Linked DNA regions of Homo sapiens: region 2 is linked to region 1. The links are contacts of gene promoters, found by promoter capture Hi-C in human tissues and cell types (Jung and others, 2019). All regions are on one chromosome and are shown on one strand. The core of a region is centred on a gene start or on the middle of the fragment in contact, and the rest is flanking DNA. Distances in the headings are between cores, read along the strand shown.

Region 1 (3,424 bases), core at 732-3,231:
TCCCAGGAGAGTCCTCTGGGTGTCCTGCTAAGGCCCAGGGTTTCCTGGTGTTTCTGGCCAAGCCTGCCACCTCGCCATAAGGGCATTTGCCGCAGGATCACCTTCAGGCATGGAGGGGGGGTTGAGAGAACAAAGGGAGCAGCTGTCTGTTCAGAGCCTCCTTCCACCCTCCCTACTCCTGAAGTCACATTCCAGTCCAGGCCCACAGCATCCCGAGCTGGGGGCTTTGTCAGCCCACAGGGCACCCAACTGACCACATCCTCTCAGTCTGTGGAGAAGGAGAACTCTCAATCCTGGCAATGAAGCCACGCTGAGCAAAGGACGAAGACACACCTGGGCTCTCTCTGCAGGATTCCATTCCTGGGAAGCTCAAGGACAGGCAACAAAGGAGTCCACAGGACCAGATGTGGGCTGCCAGGGTCGGGTGGGCATGAGGGTGGGCTTCAGAGGCAGGAGGAAACCATCTGGGGTGAGGCAGATATCACAGGTGTGGACAAAGTGGTAACACAAGTGTATGCATTTATGAAATCCCCCAGATTGGGCACATACAATTAGGCATTTTATTGTGTGTAAATTCTACCTCATTCAATGTAATTTTTAAAATATTACATGAGTTTTCCAAGCAGTGTACAGAGGACCAGTGCTGGCAGCACGTCTCCCAGAGGGGAGGAGCAAGAGAGGCTCTTGGGCTCCCACATTCATCCTGTGGCTGCTGCTCCTTCTCCTGACACCCCCACCACCTGCCAGGGGTCTCCCTGCGCCTTCCACCTGGACACACCCACAGTTACCGTGAGACTCCAGGTCGTTCCCTTCCCTGCTCACACCCCCTCCAGGAGCTTCCTCTTCCTGGAGCAGGCATGCCCAGCCTTGCCTCAGGGCCTTTGCACTGACTATTCCCTGCTGCCTGGGGCTTCTCAACCTTTCCGGTCTCTTAGAGACTTCCCTGACCAGGGTCCAGTAGCACCCACCCTCTCTCTAACTGAGCGACTATAATTCCCTGATCTAAATTGTTGATCACCACTCTGCATCCTCCCACACACCCTAATGGCTGGGCTATGCAGTACCACAGCCACCAGCAGCCACTCGTGGCCACAGGGCACTTGAAATGGGGCTAGTCCACAGTGACGCTTGGTCTAACTGTAAAAAATACACAGGGAACTTCAAGACATTACACTCACACAAAAGAATGTAAACTAGCTCCTTAAGAATAGTCCTGAAGTGTTGAAGTATTTTGGATATATTAGGTTAAAGTAGAAATACCAAAATTACTTTCAGCTGTATCTTTTAACTTTTTCAAATGTGTTTTAAATTGCTCCTGGGTTTCTGTCACATCTCTGTTGGATGGCAGCTCTGCAAGTTCATGTCTACGGCTCTATTGCCCAGACTGCTTGGTGCAGGGGGAAGCTGGTGACAGGTTTGTTTATTGAATAATGAGGAGTTATGAAACGAGAACCCAGTGAACTTTACCCAAAGGTTAATTACTTTATGTTTGGCAAAGAAGTTCCCCAGAAGAGGGCATGGACAAGGTCATCCCGGAGCTTCTGAAACAGCTCCCTGCCCCAGGAATTCCCAGACCATGACCACGTGCTCCTGGATGCCCCTGACATCTGAAGACTTTAGAAGGCCAAGCCCTGTATTTCTCCCTTTCCTGTGGACATAGGTGGTCACCAGGTTTCACAGCCCAGGGAGCGGTGTCACCTCTCTGGAATCCAGAGTGAGCCAAGCTTTAGAGCACTGAGGAAGAGGGGCAGGGCTGTGGGGAGGTTGCGGTCAGGACAGGAGTGGGGAGGAGGATGAGGAGGAGGCATGGGAGGAGCGAAGGGAACTTAGGGAGGGAGGGAGGTGGTTGGGGGTGGAAAGGGAGATAGAGACAGAAGAGGAGGGGTAGAAAGAGGAGGAGGAGCCAGGGGCGGGGCCAGGGAGCAGGTGGGGTTGGGGGACACCCAAGTAGGATAAATGCACAGCTAGCTTCTGGCCTGGGCTTCCTGCCTCAGCCTTCTGCTGCTTTGCTCTCTGGGAGATCCAGCTCCTTGCTCTGTGTCCCAGTAGAACATGATGTGGCCCATGCACACCCCACTGCTGCTGCTGACTGCCTTGATGGTGGCCGTGGCCGGGAGTGCCTCGGCCCAATCTAGGACCTTGGCAGGTGGCATCCATGCCACAGACCTCAATGACAAGAGTGTGCAGTGTGCCCTGGACTTTGCCATCAGCGAGTACAACAAGGTCATTAATAAGGATGAGTACTACAGCCGCCCTCTGCAGGTGATGGCTGCCTACCAGCAGGTGCGTGCTACCACCACCCTGGGGGTCCTGAGTCCCAGCTGGGTTTTTTGCCTCACCCCCCAGAGCACTCCCAGCAAATCAACATTATCTAAACCGCAGACTCATTCAGCTTTCTCTGACTGTCTGCTGATGGTCTTCATGCCCTAGGACACTCCTTGGCCGTGAGTGCATGAGTTCAGCCCTGTCCTGTCCCCTCGGCCTCTTTTAACCTGCAGCAGCCACTGTGTCTGTACCATGACTGTGGCATTTCCCAGGGTCCAGCAGGTGTGGATGGAGACTGTGCTGACTCTGGGTGGGCTTGATGCTGCTCAGGATGAGATCCAGGCCACGAGGTTCATCTTCCTCCCTGAGTCCTCTCCACAGGGGCCACACGGGAACCTGACTCCTTGTCCTGGATAGCCCCGCTTCCCTCCCAAGTCACGCCCCTGGGCACAGCCCGTTATGGCTAGTGGCCTTCACTCTCAGGCTGGCTGACCACCCCCTACAGCCCAGGACAGCTGAGTTCCTGCTGGGGTAGAGCATGCCTGACCCTGCCTCTGCCAGCTAACGCAGAGTTAGACCTCAGCAAAATGAGGACAGCAATCACCCAGCAGAGTGAAGGAGGTGGTTGGGTCCAGAGGGAGGAAGCTTCAGCAGGGCTACCGAGCCCAGCTTGACCTACGTCCCATGGCAGAGCAGCAGTGACACAGCGACCACAGGGCTATATGGCCTGCCAGCCTTTAGAGCTCCTCCACCTTCTCTTGGAAAGTCAGAGGAGTCCAGACCAGCCCTGTTTCTCCTCCTGCAGCCCTCTCCCTGCACAGGAGGGGCATTCCCTGGTGCTGTGGTCCCTGCTGGCCTGCACTCCCTCTTAAGTGTGTCACTCACTGGGAGTGAAGCACAGAATGATGTAGATCGTTGGGCCCTGGAGCCTATTTTACAGAGCAGCAGACTGACACCGGAGGGATCACAGGACTTCCATGTGGTTCTACAGGACTTGTGTGTGGTTCCACAGGGCAAGGTCTAGCACCCTGGTCCCAGGGTCCCTCATCCCATGCTTCTCCACAGTTCTGACAAGTCATGTTTTGGGGCGGCACTGTGCAGGGAAAGCATTCAGTTCTCTTCTGAAGTTGCAACCCTAAGACATGCAGGTGTGTGACTC
Region 2 (3,327 bases), core at 667-3,166, 90 kb before region 1:
GCGTTGTGCCAGGAATCCTATGGTACCAGGACAGAGGGGATGCCTTCTTTGCCAAAATATTGACAGACTCACTGGATATCAGAAAAGCATGACCTGCAAAGCTAACCCAAGGGGCAGCCAAGAAGGAGAGTTCTTGAGGCAACTGTTTGGATGCAAATGTTTGGATGCAAATGTTTGGATGCAACTGTTTGGATGCAAATGTGTTTCTACTCCAAGCCATTTCTGTCTTAATGGTATCTCTTCACCAGCTGTTCCTCTGAGGTGAAGGTTTTCACATTTCAAAGCTTCCATTTCACACAAAGTCCCATGGGAGGGAATGTATGCCTTATTTTTTAACTGTATAAAGAATACAAGGGCCTGAGGATGTATTTCAAGGAGTCCATACTGTAGAGTTCTTTATAGGCTAATAACCCCACCAGGGGCCCAGTAAGAAATTATTGCTTTGCTCTTAAGAAAAAATAAATTGAAACCAAAACATCATGTTAAGCCATAAAATAAGGAAGTTCTTCAAGAAGCATGAGGTCATGCCAAAGGATACAGGAGGTTGCTGACAGGCCTCCTGCTGAGCACATCTGACAATACAGCAACAATATGAATTATACTAGTTAGGTACCATAACATATAGAATAAAATAAGCATCAAAAGTTCTTATTGTTATGAATGCACAAAGTAATAAACAAATGAGAAGAAAGTATTTTTTCTGATAGGAATATGAACAAATAAATGTGGAAAAAGTAAAGTTAGAACATCAATGAATAATAAAACTACTGGATTAAAGGTTGATGAGGAGCAAGATAGTTACATAGTCTCCAAACATCTCCCTGCTAGATCCCTACTAATTATAAAGATGAAATTGATAGCCTCTTTTTGGAGAACCCCAGGAGTCACCATCTTAACCCGGGGATGAAGGTTAACATCGCTAACGTAGGGGCAGCCATGGTCATGCGTCTTCTCATGTGTGCACTGGGAAGGACAAAGTGCCACCTCTGTGGCATTCCTGCCAAAAAATACATCATGTGAATTTAATCGTGAAGTTGAAAAATCATGTCAAGGGCATCCTACAAAGTAACTGGCTTTACTCTGTTTTTTTTTTTAAGACAAAATCCATGATCAAGAGGCCCACATAAAGACTGTGAAAGTGATTAGGTTTAAGACAGACCAAGAAGATGCATCAGTCAATGGACCATGTAATCCTGTATTGGATTTTAGAGAGGGGAAGAGAAAACTTTGGGGACAATTGATGAAATCTGAATATGGGCTGTGGATTACATAATGGCATTATATCAATATTAAATTGTTTGACTCTGAAAACTGTACTGTGGTTATATAATAGGATATCCTTCTTCTTGAGAAACACATGCTGAACTGTTTAAAGATAAAAGGGGCACAATGTCCCCAATTTACTCTCAAGTAAATAGATCAATAGGTACCAAATTTGGCAAATTGTAAATTGTCAGTAAATCTGCATATATATATATGAGCTCCTTCTACAACTCTTGCAACTTTTCTATACATTTTAAATTACAACAAAAAAACCTAAGCAATAAATTGGGAGCCAATCTCTATTGTCCTATAGATGTCAAAAGTAAATCCTATAGGTAGGTGAATCTGAAAAGCAAGCTATCTCTTTGTGAGCCATTGAGGCTACAGTGGTAAACCAACAAGGTTTCTGCCTCATGGAAAATGGTAAAGTTGGGCCTCCAGGTGTTCCCCCAGCTACTGCAGGTGCCCTTGGCACCCTTCTTTCTGAGCAGATGCTCTTAGCAGCAGCAGCTCCCAGCACCTGCTTCTCAGCAGCAGCAGCCTGGCACAGCACCTTGCTCTTGACCACTGCTCCCTCGGAAGGGCCCTCCCCTGAGGGCAGAGTCAAGAGACAGTAGTCAAAGTCTGACTCCTACTATTAGCAGATGGCACTGAGGGAGTTACCACCTACTAAAGTGGCTCCCAGCCTCCTCCACAGTTGCTCTTCCTCAGCACACCAGATTGTAGACCAAGACCGTTATTACATTATCTAGAGTCAGCTTTAGGGCAGCACAATGCTACCTTGTGTACTAGTTATCCACTGCTATGTAACAAAATACCCTGAGGCATGGTGAAATTCATGACCTCACAGTGCTATGGGTCAGAAGTCCAGGAGCATCTTAGCTGGTTGGCTCTGGCTCAGGGTCTATTGCCAAGTTTCATCCAAGGTTGCAGTCATCTGAGGTTTTGATCAGGGCTGCAAGATCTGCTTCTAAATGCTCTTGCATGGCTGTGGGCAGGAGGCCCCAGCTCCTCACCATGTGGGCCTCTCATAGGGCTGCTCACAACATAGCAGTTGGCTTTCCCTGTGGACAGTGGGCTGGGAGAGAGCTACCAAAATGCAAGCCACAGTGTCTTTTGTTGCCTTATCCCAGAGGTACCACATCACCAGTTCTGCCATCCCAATGCTGGTGCACTGTGGGAGGAAACCACTGAGGGATGTGACTATTAGAAGCCTGGGACCCATCCCAGGGGCTGTATGCCACCATCTTCCCTCTGGCCTCAATGAGTTCTGTCCATCAGACATGCAAAATAACTCAACCCTTCCCAAGACTCCTATAAAAGTGATCCCATCCCATCAGCTGAAATCCGTGGTCTGTTATAGTTCCTCACAACTCTTGAATTGAAAAGATCAGATCTTTCCCCCTCAACATAAAATGGGTACAGGAATAGGTGTAGAGTCCCCAGATACCCCCTCTTTCCTTCTGTGTCTGGACAGAAAACCACAGAATGTCTTGATCTCTGTGACTCAGACAGCTACAGGTTCTTCGAAGCAGGCTCAAATCAAACAAAGTTATATCTTGAACATTTTCAGGCACTGATAAGGGTATCTAGGTTGTTGCCCCAAACACTGAAAGAAACTGGCCTCATGCCCTGACCCCTCACTGTGGACTTGTGTAGGCAGAGCAGCCTTTTCTCACACTGTGTATCGCGAGGATTGCTGCAGCCCTCTGTTAATTAAGTTCCCCAAATAATGCTCTGGACTGAAGTTTAGTGCTTCTTTCTTTGTAATCCCAACTGGCCCCATCATGGGAGGGTTTGGGGCTCTCTGTTGTGGGACCTCCTCTGCTGCCACTTTTGGGGTGATGCCAGCTCTGGGCTCAGCAGAATAAAACAGTAAGAACCACCTTCAGCCCTCCTATTCAAAAAGAGGGAAACAAGAGGTGCACCAGCACCCCTGGCTGCAGCAGTTCTGGAATCCAGCTTAAAAAATGTTGGATGTTTAGGACTCAGTCCTACTCATGCCCATCTGTTCTTCTCTGTGCCTCCTCAACTGGTCCTTGGGATTCTTGTTTCCACTATCTG

What was found. Contacts are between HindIII fragments. The study calls those that stand out against the background at their distance.
Region 2: a contact is called between a fragment that was not itself captured here and the fragment with the promoter of CST5 in region 1, in 2 of the 25 tissues and cell types used here (dorsolateral prefrontal cortex and spleen).

Annotation. Positions count from the first base shown.
Region 1 is chr20:23,878,305-23,881,728 of GRCh38, reverse strand. CST5 (cystatin D) reads left to right here and starts at 1,981. Exons shown (of 3, transcript NM_001900.5): 1 at 1,981-2,283. The coding sequence starts at 2,053. RefSeq lists an enhancer at 1,659-2,488. The HindIII fragment of the contact is 5,935 bases long and covers 65-3,424 here.
Region 2 is chr20:23,968,695-23,972,021 of GRCh38, reverse strand. No RefSeq gene overlaps it. Among named protein-coding and RNA genes, the nearest start is that of GGTLC1, 18 kb to the left of the region's middle. The HindIII fragment of the contact is 5,449 bases long and covers 1-3,327 here.